Regions from separate parts of the Homo sapiens genome. Here region 1 is linked to region 2. Evidence: promoter capture Hi-C in 16 types of primary human blood cells and fetal thymus (Javierre and others, 2016). All regions are on one chromosome and are shown on one strand. Each heading gives the region's core, a stretch centred on a gene start or on the middle of the fragment in contact. The rest is flanking DNA. Distances are from core to core; before and after follow the strand shown. Region 1 holds the start of LRFN1 (leucine rich repeat and fibronectin type III domain containing 1). Region 2 holds the start of IFNL2 (interferon lambda 2).

Region 1 (6,711 bases), core at 1,209-3,708, 52 kb after region 2:
CTGTGCACCAGATCTTGCCTTGGAGACCATCCCGGCCAAGGAAGTCCCTGGTGTGATCACGCTCTCAGTCCTCCTGTGGCGGGTTTTGCATAGTCTCACAGGAACCCAGAAGTCCTCTCTGGAATCCTAGATTAGGCCTCAGGGTTGTTCACCCTCCAAAGCCCAGGAGTCGAGGACTTTAGCCCTTTGTCCTCTGGGGTTTCAGGAGCCAAGAACCCCAGCCCCCTCTTCCCTCTGACCCAAGAGTCCAGACCAGACCTCTGGCCCTCCATTAGAACCCAAGAGTTTACATCCCAGCCCCTCAACTCCAAAGTCCTGAACGGTACCAAGAGCTGGGGAAGGGCCAAAGTTTCCCATCCTTGCCATGATACTATTGCCCACACCAACATGTGTGTCCATGTCAGAACCCACGCAAGCCCACAACCCAAGTCTCTACATCTGGATTTCTATGAACATAGCAACATGATCTGTGTGCCCTCCGCCCTCTATGGGCACTTGGCCTGGCATATGGACACACTGTGTCCAGGGACCCCAGGCGGGACCCCAGTATACCAGAGGTCATGCCACATGGGCCTCAAACCCACTGAACCCAAGAGTAGGGACAGCCTTGTGCCAGGGCACAGACACATGTGTCTTTCACATACATGTCTGAACATACACAACCCCCAGAGACCAACACCAAAACACAAACAGACTCACAACATAGATGGATACATACCCTCAAGGTTGACACACCTGCATGCAACAATACATGTACAACACTGACTCTGCCATGCAAGTTCACACACACAAATGCACAGATACAACAGAGAAACTCATGTGCCCCCTAACAGACAACCAGGTACATGCATTTACAACAGATCTACCTTGCACACTCACCAGCACACAGGGGCACACACATCTAACAAACACACACACACCTGTGCAAACATACACAAGTGCACACTCTTAAATGCCTAGACACACTCATACTTCACACATCTCCATGTTGCAAAGTTGATACAGCACCACGCTAACAGATACATACCTCACACACACACACACACACACAAAACCACAAGCATACAGATACGAGGCTGATCCACACTGGAACACGCACACAGGCACAAAAAGATCCACCTTTGCAGACACGCCAAGATGTTCACTCATAACAGACACATGCTCACACAACAGTCCTGTGATTTACACACTTCCAAATGCATAGAAAATACTGAACCACAGTAGCACAGTCAGTAGACAGGCCCAGATTCACACTCACACAGTCTTGGACACACATTCCTCCCAGCCCTGAGGCACCCCCCCACCACCCCACCTACTTACTTCCCAGGCCCAAGAAATCCTAACATCCCTGCAGCACATTCAGCATCCTGCCCTCCACACCCCCAAAAAACCAGGGCAAAAGCCAGGCCAGAGGTCAGAGTTCAGCAGGTGGAAACTCAAGAGGATTTGGGGGTTTGAGTCCTAGATCACCGTTTCAAGGAGATCCTCCCACCAGCAGCCCCAAAGGTTCCCCAGCCTGGCCATCAGGATGGAGGTAACTCTGGCTCCGTCTGCAGATGTCTGGCCGGTGGGGGAATTAGGGTGGAGTGGGTGGGGAAGGGCCGGGTCTTCGCCCCCCAACCCCCACCTCAGGGCCCATCTGTCCATTTCTCGGCCTCTCATCCCCCCTCCATCTGTCCACCTCCTGGCCGCCCATCCCCCCCCCGCAACCACCGGGAAGGGGAAGACATGGCCGCTTCCCCCAGGACCGCTAAGGACCCCCCAGTTGACATGGACCGAGGGAGCGGCGAACTCCCCTCCCCCAAATCCACACCGAGGCCTGGGCGCCGAGCCTCAGCCCCCAAGCCAGCAACCTGCCGTGGACTCACAGATACACACCCTCGGAGACATACAACCCGCAGACACACACACACACACACACACACACACACACACACAAATGGACACCCGAGCGGGCACACCCGGCTCCACAGACCCGGGGATGGACATCCAACCCGGACACAAACACCCAGAGCAGCTAGTCGCGCACGCACATGGGCTTGGGGGGGACCCACACCTGGGCACACAACCCACGCACACACACACCTGCACACAGCCCCTCCGATGGGCGCGCGACAGCGCCCAGACACACAGCCGGAGGGGCGGCCGCTCGGGGGGACACGCGTGCACAGCCGGACACGCCGGCCGGGCTCGACACCCCGCGCACACCCGATGGCCACACGGGCAGGGCGCCGCACACGCCGGCACCGGGCACACATAGGGCCGCGCGGGCGCACGCCGGGCCCGCCGCAGCGCCACGGACACACACTCGCACGCTCGCACGCTCACACCCGCGCACACACCCGCGCCCCCGCCCGCCGCTCCCGGGCCGCTGCAGGCCGCGCTCACCCAGCCCGGGGGGGCCCCGGGCCCGGCCCCGCCGCCGCTGCCTCGCTCCGCGCCATGGTGGGGGGAGGGCCGGGGGAGGGGGCGCGGTGCCGCGGGGCCGCCTCCCTCCCGCCTCCCGCCCTCCCTCCCGAGCCGCAGCCGAGCTCCGCCCTCCGCGCCGCCCGCCGCCACCGCCGCCGCAAGGGGGGAGGGGGCGCCGACTGGTGGGGGCGGCCGGGCGGGGCGGTCGCACACCCGGGATCCCCGCCCCGAACCCGCCGCAGACCCCTCTCCACTGCCGAGCCGCCGCGGGCCCGCCCCCGACCCTTCCCCAGCCCCACCCCCAGCCCCGCCGGCCTCCCCGGAGACCCCCCCAGACCACGCCCCAACTGGCCTAGGGACCCCGGATCTCCCTACAGAGACCTCCCATCACGTCCTAATACCCAGGGGGACCTCGGATCAGGCCTCACCTCTTTTGAGAACCCAGGCGATGTTCTAGGGCCACCCAGGACCACAAATCATGCCCTGCTCTCCTGCTTGACCTCAGACTATGACCCACACACTGTCAGGAACCCCAGACCATGCCCCCAAACCCAGAAGAATCCCAGATCATATCCCAGCATCCAAGGGGATCCAGACCACCCCACCAGCAACCCTAAATCATATCCCAACATTCAGATAGACCCCCAGACCACACCCCTTCCCTCACGGACCCCAAATCATACCCTAACATCGGGGGAGACTTCAGACCATATGTCAGCCAAATCCCAGATGGTGCCTGACTCCCTTTGGGGACCCAAACCACATTCTACAGCCACCAGAACCACAAATCATATTCCACTCCTTCTTGGGGACCCCCAGCCATGTCCTTCTACCCTCAAGGACCCTAACCCATTCCCTTACCCCCAGTATGAACTCCAAACCATGCCTAACTTCTAGGGGGCCCTAAAATGTCTCTTATCCCTATGGAAGACCCTTAAACTTTCCCCATGAACCCCATTAGACCCCAAACCATCTTCCACCCCTTTGACCTTACACCTTTCTCTCTCCTTCTCCTCCAAGACATCCTTTGGTTTCCAAAACTCCCCAATTAGCCCCAATTTTTTCCCACCCCCTACTAGTCCTGCCCCCTTGAGGACCCTGCCTCCTTCTTGCTCCAGTTCTTTCTCTTGGACCCTGAAAGTCCCCCCTCCCTGTGACTTCCATAGAGCCCAGAATGCCTTGCTCCTTCCTAGTTCAGACCCCTTTGCCCATCCCCTGTCCCATAGCTGAACCCCACCCCTTCCCTCAAACCCCACTGAGTATCTCAGGCCACTCTCCTTCTCTTTCTGAGATATTCACAGGGTCCCTAAACCCAGCAACTTCTCCCCTAAAAATCTGTGTTGTTTCATGCAGTGCCCCAGATTCCTGGGGTCTCAAACCCTTCTCGTTTTGGATCCCACTGTACAGAGGTCCTCCTCTAAACCCCTTTCCTAATTTTTTTTTTTTTTTAGACAAAGTCTCACTCTGTCACCCAGGCTGGAGTAGAGTGGCACGATCTCGGCTCACTGCAACCTCCACCTCCCAGGTTCAAGCAATTCTCCTGCCTCAGCCTCCCTAGTAGCTGGGATTACAGGTGTGCGCCACCACGCCCGGCTAATTTTTCTTTTCTTTTTCTTTTTTCTTTTCTTTTTTTTTTTTTTTTTGAGACAGAGTCTTGCTCTGTTGCCCAGGCTGGAGTGCACTGGCATGGTCTCCGCTCACCGCAACCTCTGCTTCCCGGGTTCAAGCAATTCTCCTGCCTCAGCCTTCCGAGTAGCTGGGACTACAGGCATGTCCCACCATGCCTGGCTACTTTTTGTATTTTTAGTGGAGACAGGGTTTTGTCATGTTGGCCAGGCTGGTCTCGAACTCTTGGCCTCAAGTGATCCGCCCGCCTCAGCCTCCCAAAGTGCTGGGATTACAGGCATGAGCCACCGCACCCAGTCTAATTTTTCTTTCTTTCTTTTTTTTTATTTGTTTGTTTTTGAGTCAGAGTCTCACTCCATCACCCAGGCAGGAGTGCACTGGTGTGATCACAGCTCACTGCAGCCTGGACCTCCTGGGCTCAAGTGTTCCTCCCATCTCAGCCTCCTCAGTAGCTGTTTTGTTTTTGGTTTTGTTTTAGTTTTTTTATAAATGGAGTCTCACTATGTTGCCCAGGCTGGTCTTGAACTCCTGACCACGGTGGTCATGAGCTACTGTGCCTGGCCTAAATTATTTACATGAAGCCCGCCCTATCCCCCAGATCAAGCTCAGCTCTGCAGATAACTCCTTCTGGTGAACCTTAACCCCAAGCGCAACTCTGAGATGTCCCTGGGGACACTCACAATCCCCCTATTCTCCAGACTCCACCCTTCATCGCCACCACCCAGGCAGCATCCCCACCTCCCACCGTGGTTGCTAGTGCTCCCTGCTGGAGCTTGGGGGTAGGAATAACAACAACAACACAAGTGAACACATATACAGCACTATTTATGTGCCAGAAATGATTCTAAGGGTTTCACATCTATCACTTCATTCAATCTACACAACAGCCAAATGAAGAGGTCCTATTACCATCCCCATTTTATGGATAAGGGAAATAGAGGCACAGAGAGGTTTGGTCACTTGCCCAAGGTCACACAGATAGTATGTGGCAGAACAGGGTAGGGGTGATGGGGAAAGAGGGTGAGGGTAGGCCTGGGCTGGACAGGAGTAGAAAAGAGAGGGAGAGAAAAAAAGATAATAATAAGAGAGACAGATGGAAGAAGAAAGAAGCTGAAACCGAGGGAGATATGCCTTATTCATAGAGCCAATCTGGCCCTGTGAGCTCTGGTCCCAGCTGACCCTATTTCCAACGACTCTCCTCTTCTGTTCCAGCTTCTTCTTCTTCTTTTTTTTTTTTTTCTTTTTTTTTTTAGAAATGGGGGTCTCACTATGTTGCCCAGGCTGGTCTGGAACTCCTGGGATCAAGTGATCCTCCCGCCTCAGCCTCCCAAAGTGCTGGGTTTACAGGCGTGCACCACCACTCCTGGCCCCTCTTTCAGTTTTAACAATGACTTTTCTTTTCTTTTTTGAGACAGGGCCTCACTCTGTCACCCAGGCTGGAGTGCAGTGGCATGATCTCGGCTTACTGCAACCTCTGCCTCCCAGGCTCAAGCGATTCTCCTACCTCAGCCTGAGTAGCTGGGACCACAGGCGCCCACCACCACACCCGGCTAATTTTTGTATTTTTAGTAGAGACAGGGTTTTGCCATGTTGGTCAAGCTGGTCTCGAACTCCTGACCTCAAGTGATCCGCCCACCTCAGTCTCCCAAAGTGCTGGGATTACAGGTGTGAGCCACCGCATCCGACCCCTTGTTCAGCTTCTACGATGACTTTCCTATTCCTCCAACACACCAGCCCACAGCAGCAGCCCCTGAGCATATGCACTCTTCTCCCCTTTCCATGGCTGCTGGTTCTTTCTTTTCATGATGGTCTTAAATGTAATCTCTTCAAAGAGACCTTCCTTTTCCATCCCCAATTTACACACACCATCCCTACCTGGGCCCCCAACCAGCAGTCTGATGTTACTTTGAAATAGAAGAAGAAGGAGAAGGAGAGAAGAAAGGAAGAAGAAGGAGGAGGAGGAGGAGGAGGAGGGGAGGAAGAGGAGGAGGAAGAAGAGAAAAGAAAAGAGAGAAGAAAAGAAAGGAAGAGGAAGAAGAAGGAGGAGGAGGAAGAAGAAAGGAGGAAGAAGAGGAGGAAGAAGAGGAAGAGGAGGAGAAGGAGGAGGAAGAAGGGTGGCTGGATGGATATATGATGAAGTAATACCTTGACGTGTCAGTGGTGGCATCTAAGTGATGGGTATATGAGTGTTCACTATAAAATTATTTCAACTCAGGCTGGGCGTGGTGGCTCACATCTGCAATCTCAGCATTTTGGGAGGCCGAGGAGGGAGGATCAGTTGAGCCCAGGAGTTCAAGACCAGCCGGGCAACATAGCGAGACCCCATCTCTAATAAACTTTTATATAAATATATATATAGATATATATATAATACACACACACACACACATATATATATAATTATTTCAACTTGGCTGCATGTTTGAAATGTTTCATAGTAAATGTTAGGGAGTGGGGAAGCAGGACTCTTCTGGCGGCAACAAACAGCCCCACCAGGTGCCACCATTTCTATCTAGCACATCACCTTATTTATTTCCCTTATAGTATTTATCACTCTCTTTATTTTTATTTTAAAAGGAAAAAAGAGATGAGGTCTTGCTGTGTTGCCCAGGTTGGTCTCGAACTCCTGGGCTCAAGCCATCCTCCTGCCTTGGCCTCCCAAAGTGCTGGGATTAC
Region 2 (6,160 bases), core at 1,102-3,601:
GGGGTGCATTGTACGACCCTCCAACGGTTGCTATGGCAGGAAAAAACTTGAGCTCTGGAAACCGTGGCTGACCCCAGGCAACAGGGACCAGTTCCTCCTTGTGTGGTTACCAGGACACCCCCAACACCAGGTCCTAACCCCGGATTTGTAGCCCCACAGCCAGCTTTGAGATTCTGTGAATCCGTGACTCTTGGATCCGGCATCTAAGGGACACCAATCCATGAGGGATTTGGTAGTGAAAGGCCCAAGGGTCCTTAACCGACTGTGGTTCTTTGGATTCCCTTACGTGTGTTTGTATTTGTGAAGTTCCTGTGCATTTGCTATTCTGTCTCCCGGTTTAAATTTATTGCCAGTTATCAAAGAGTGTTTTGATCGCATTGGTTGTTTTCCGTATGATGATTGTGAGGTGCACCTTACAGCAAAAAAAGAGGCCGAGCCAGGGACTCAGGTGGCCTGAGGTTCAGTTCTGACCCTGCCAGTTAATTACAGTGGAATTCAGGGCAAATTACTTTTCTGAGCCTCTGTTTCCTCACCTATAGGATGGGTTAGCATACTTGCCTTGTGGAGGAGTAGTGTCCGTTGAGATCACGTTTTAAACTCTCCAACTGAGGTCCTAGTATGGTCTTAATGAGTGGATTCTATTAAATAATCACTCACATAAATACACAAACAATTGTGTTATTAATTTTTTCTCCAAATCTGTGCATTAGCAATCTGCGTTGCTGAATGCACCCCTCCTTGCCAAGGTCACACGGCTAGTGAGGGTCAGAACCAGGTTTGAACCCCAGACCCTTCATCTCCAAGACCCATGCTCTTCACCACTGCCTGAACTTCCCTAAGAAAGACGGCACCCACGTGGTGTCCTTCAAGTCCTTCGTCACACCTCAGTTCTTGAGCAGAGCCTCATATTCCTGAGTCCTTCCTTGCCTGGGCAATTAAGAAATATTGGCCTTGGCTGGGCTCAGAGGCTCATGCCTGTAATCCCAGCACTTTGGGAGGACGAGGAAGGTGGATCATGAGGTCAGGAGTTCAAGACTAGCCTGGCCAGCATGGTGAAACCCTGTCTCTACTAAAAATACAGAAATTAGCTGGGCATGGTGGCACATGCCTGTAATCCAAGCTACTCAAGAGGCTGAGGCAGGAGAATCACTTGAACCCAGGAGGCAGAGGTTGCAGTGAGCTGAGATGGTGCCTCTGCACTCCAGCCTGGGCAACAGAGCGAGACTCCATCTCTCTTGCTCACTCACTCTCTCTCATGCTCTCTCTCTCTCTCTCTCTCTCTCTCTCTCTCTATATATATATATATATATATATATACACACACATATATGCCTCTGGCCGGGCGCGGTGGCTCACGCCTATAATCCCAGAACTTTGGGAGGCCGAAGAAGGCAGATCACGAGGTCAGGAGTTCAAGACCAACCTGGCCAATATGGCAAAACCCCGTCTCTACTAAAAATACAAAAATTAGTTGGGCGTGGTGGTGCATGCCTATAGTCCTTTCTACTCGGGAGGCTGAAGCAGAAGAATCCCTTGAACCAAGGAGGTGGAGGTTGCAGTGAGTCGAGATCACGCTGCTGCACTCCAGCCTGGGCTACAGAGCAAGACTCCATCTCAAAAAAAAAAGAAAAAAGAAAGAAAGAAAGAAATCATGGCCTCTGGGCACAGTGGCTCATGCCTGCAACCCCAGCAATTTGGGAGGCCAAGACAGACAGATCACTTGACGTCAAGAGTTCGAGACCAGCCTGGCCAATTGGTGAACTGTCATCTCTACTAAAACCATAAAAATTAGCTGGGAATGGTGGCACAAATCTGTAATCTCAGCTACTTGGGAGGCTAAGGCAAGAGAATCGCTTGAACCCAGGAGGTGGAGGTTGCAGTTAGTCAAGATTTTGCACTGCACTCCAGCCTGGGTGACCGAACAAGACCCTGTCTCAAAATATATATATATATATATGCCAGGAGGGGTGGCTCAGGCCTGTAATCTCAGCACTTTAATAGGCTGGGTGAGGAGGATGGCTTGAGCCCAGGAGTTTGAGGCTGCAGTGAGCTGTGATCATGCCATTGCACTCCAGTGACAGAGTGAGACCCTGTCTTAAACAACAACAAAACCAGAGCAGGTGGAATCCTCCTGGGAACATACCTTCCTGTAGGTTACCCCTGAGTCTCCATCAGTTTCTCTTTCCCTCCAGCTGCTCATCTGGCTCACTAGCCCTGCCCTGCTCTGGGCTTTCCCAGCCTGGGGCTCCCCTGGTGGCCGGTGTCTTACCTGAGGCTGTGTTTTCACTTTTCCTACATCAGCTGGGACTGCCCTTCTGTCAGGGATAAAAGCTGCCCCATGGAGCTCAGGCAGGAATTACATCCCAGACAGAGCTCAAAACTGACAGAAAGAGTCAAAGCCAGGACACAGTCTGAGATCCAGAAGAGGGGACTGAAAAGAACAGAGACTCCAGACAAGACCCAAACAGACCCTGGGTGACAGCCTCAGAGTGTTTCTTCTGCTGACAAAGACCAGAGATCAGGAATGAAACTAGGTGAGTCCCACATCTCTGTCCGTGCTCAGCTCCTGCAGCCCCTGCCCTCAGTGGGCAGCCTCTCCATCCCCTCAGCTCCCTTTCTCTCTGTGACACAGACATGACTGGGGACTGCACGCCAGTGCTGGTGCTGATGGCCGCAGTGCTGACCGTGACTGGAGCAGTTCCTGTCGCCAGGCTCCACGGGGCTCTCCCGGATGCAAGGGGCTGCCACATAGCCCAGTTCAAGTCCCTGTCTCCACAGGAGCTGCAGGCCTTTAAGAGGGCCAAAGATGCCTTAGTGAGTCTCCCCCTGCCCTCCTGCCATGGACTAGCCTCCACCCCCACTCCAAGCGTCACCATGCTTTCCCACTCCCAGCTTCCTTCACTGGGCTAGCCTCCACCCTCCCTGCAGTGGGCTATCTCATGCTCCTACTGTAGGGACTGACTCATGTTTTCCTGTAGAAGAGGGTCCTCTACCATCCTCCCAGCAGTTAACCTCCCCTATCCTGTTGTCAGCCATCCTCCAATCCCACCAGGATGGTCTAACCTCCACCCCTCCTGCTGGGGCTAACCTGTGCCTTTGCTGTCTAGGAAGAGTCGCTTCTGCTGAAGGACTGCAGGTGCCACTCCCGCCTCTTCCCCAGGACCTGGGACCTGAGGCAGCTGCAGGTGAGAGGGGGAGTCAGGCCCACCCCTGCTCTCCCAGCCCCACTCACCTGGCTCTGTAGTGGCCCCTTCACCGTCTCTTTCTCCCTTGTCTCTCTCTCTTCTCCTCACACCTGCTCTCCCTTCCCTCCGCTCCCACCTGACCACACTGGCTGTGCCCTCTCCCCTGTGCCTGTCACCTTCACTTGTTCCTCTCTATCCTGCTCCCCAACCTGTTCCCCTCACCTCCCCCCTCACCTGCTCTTTCTCACCTCTCCTCAGGTGAGGGAGCGCCCCATGGCTTTGGAGGCTGAGCTGGCCCTGACGCTGAAGGTTCTGGAGGCCACCGCTGACACTGACCCAGCCCTGGTGGACGTCTTGGACCAGCCCCTTCACACCCTGCACCATATCCTCTCCCAGTTCCGGGCCTGTGTGAGTCGTTGGGGCCTGGGCACCCAGGTCTGTGAGCTCTGAGCAGCGTCCTTCCCCTTGCCAAGGCCCCGGCTCACACACCGCCCTCCTCTGCCCACAGATCCAGCCTCAGCCCACGGCAGGGCCCAGGACCCGGGGCCGCCTCCACCATTGGCTGTACCGGCTCCAGGAGGCCCCAAAAAAGGTGAGTGACCCGGGAAGAGAGGGACTGAGGTCTGGGGAGCCACTGGGAGCCCAGAACCCAGACAGCCCCTGACCCATCCCCTCCTCCCTACAGGAGTCCCCTGGCTGCCTCGAGGCCTCTGTCACCTTCAACCTCTTCCGCCTCCTCACGCGAGACCTGAATTGTGTTGCCAGTGGGGACCTGTGTGTCTGACCCTCCCACCAGTCATGCAACCTGAGATTTTATTTATAAATTAGCCACTTGTCTTAATTTATTGCCACCCAGTCGCTATTTATGTATTTGTGTGTGTAAATCCAACTCACCTCCAGGAAAATGTTTATTTTTCTACTTTTTATAACCCTTGTTGAAATAAACAAAGGAAAAGACACTCATGACGTTGGACTGTGTGTCTGTTGGTGTGTATTTCCTTTGTGTTGCTGCCATAACAACGCTAAAAGTAGCATCTTCCAAAGACACACTTGATGAGCTGGGAGTCTGCAGGTCAGAGGCTCGCTGGCCCTGGCTGGTTTCTCTCCTGTGGGACTCACAGGCTAGAATCCAAGCATTGCTGCTGGGCTCTTACTGGGAGCTCTGAAGAGAAACTCTTTCCAGGGTCAGTCACATTGTTGGCAGATCACTGTTCCTTGCTGCTGTAGGACTAAGGTTCCTGCCCCCTCCTGGCTATGGGTCCATCCTGAGCTGACTCTGCTGAAGGGTTCTCCACTCCTCTCACTAAGCTAACCTCTACCCTCCCTGCAGTGGGCTATCTCATGCTCCTACTATAGGGGCTGATTCATGTCCTCCTGCAGTGGAGGGTCCTGTAACATCCTCCCGGGAGTTAACCTCCACTATCCTGTTGTCAGCCATCCTCTAATCTCACTGGAGTGGTCTAACCTCCACCCCTTCTACTGGGGGCTAACCTGTGCCCTTGCTCTCTAGGAAGAGTCGCTCCTGGGGATGGATGGCAGGTGCCGCTCCCGCTTCTTCCCCAGGACCTGAGATCTGAGGCATAATACATAACGTATTCTATCCCTCATGACAGTGGAAGACAGAATAATTTCACTGCCCTGAAAATTCACTGTCCTTCCCCATTCATGCTTATCTGGCTGTCTGTGGTCCCTACTAATAGGCCCTTCCAACTCAGAGCCAGGAACAGTGCTTCAAACCTTTCTCATGCTTGGAACCTCTCTGACCTCTCCTGCCATGTTGCTCTTGTACTTCCAGCTAGAGAAAGTCTTCCACGTTTCAGGGCTCAGGTGGTTAGTTTGGCATCCAGGGTGATCTCCCCATTGTCAATCCACATGCCATAATCGCATCTGCAAAGCTCCTTTGCCGAGTAACATAAGATATGCACAGGGTCCAGGGATGCGGTGCTGGGTGACTTTGGGGTGGCATCTTCGGCCTCCTACAGTGTGTGTATGATTGTGCTTCTGATTGTGCGTCATTGTAGTTATGGGATTGTGTGTGTGCCTGGTCTACCTGAGAGTGTATGAGGGATCATTTAGAATGCATTGTGCTATAAGTAAAGTAACAGAAGCTAGAAATGCCTTGGTAATAAGAACTTTCATCAGCATCCATGGTGAGACATCTAGAACAGCAGGTTCATTGAGGGCTGTGCTATCCACTGGAGTCCGCGGGCCACATGTCACTATCGAGCACCTGGAATATAGGTGGTGCAACCTCATTTTTTCAGTGAGTGTAAAACATACCCCAGAATTTGAAGATTTACTGTGGGAAAAAAATAATGTAAAACAGCTCGATTATAATTTACATATTCATTAGATGTTGAAATGATAGCACTTTGGATGTATTGGGTGAAATGAAGCATCTTTAAAATTAATTTAGAGCCTGGATGTGATTGCTCAAGCCTGTAATCACAGCACTTTGGGTGGCTGAGTTGGGAGGATCACTTGAGCCCAGACTAGCCTGGGCAACATAGCAAGATCCTGTCTCTATAAAAAATTAGAGAATTGGCTGGGTGTGGTGGCACAAGCCCATAATCCCAGCTACTGGCGGAAGCTGAGATGGGAGGACTGCTTGAGGTCAGGAGTTCACGACCAGCCTGAGCAACAGCAAGATCCTGTCTCTTGCGTGATCACATCTCACTGTAGCCTCAAACTCCTGGGCTCAAGTGATTCTCTCTCCTCGGCACCATCCTCCACCCTCTCCAGCCCCTCCCCGAACTGGGATTACAGGCTTGAGTCACCGGGTCCAGCCCATTCTCTTTCCAAGAAGCCCCTGAATTGTATAAGCAAGCATGAGGTCTCACTAACCCTGGATCGGCCCCCACAAATGAGGGGGACAACTTGGATCAGGGACCCCTGCTGAGTAGAGTTGGCTGAGCTGCTGGAACAAAGAGTCCCCCAAATACAGTGATCATGAATTACAAACCACAGAGTGTCAT

The links. Contacts are between HindIII fragments. The CHiCAGO score rates a contact against its expected background, and 5 or more counts as called.
Region 1: a contact is called between the fragment with the promoter of LRFN1 here and the fragment with the promoter of IFNL2 in region 2, in 1 of 17 cell types (erythroblasts). The highest score is 8.5, in erythroblasts.

What each region holds. Positions count from the first base shown.
Region 1 is chr19:39,318,405-39,325,115 of GRCh38, forward strand. LRFN1 (leucine rich repeat and fibronectin type III domain containing 1) reads right to left here and starts at 2,459. Exons shown (of 5, transcript NM_020862.2): 1 at 2,389-2,459. RefSeq lists a silencer at 2,048-2,307. The HindIII fragment of the contact is 24,527 bases long and covers 1-6,711 here.
Region 2 is chr19:39,266,045-39,272,204 of GRCh38, forward strand. IFNL2 (interferon lambda 2) reads left to right here and starts at 2,352. Exons shown (of 6, transcript NM_172138.2): 1 at 2,352-2,534; 2 at 2,633-2,814; 3 at 3,108-3,185; 4 at 3,444-3,593; 5 at 3,694-3,777; 6 at 3,871-4,144. The coding sequence starts at 2,525. The coding sequence ends at 3,969. RefSeq lists an enhancer at 1-70. The HindIII fragment of the contact is 23,103 bases long and covers 1-6,160 here.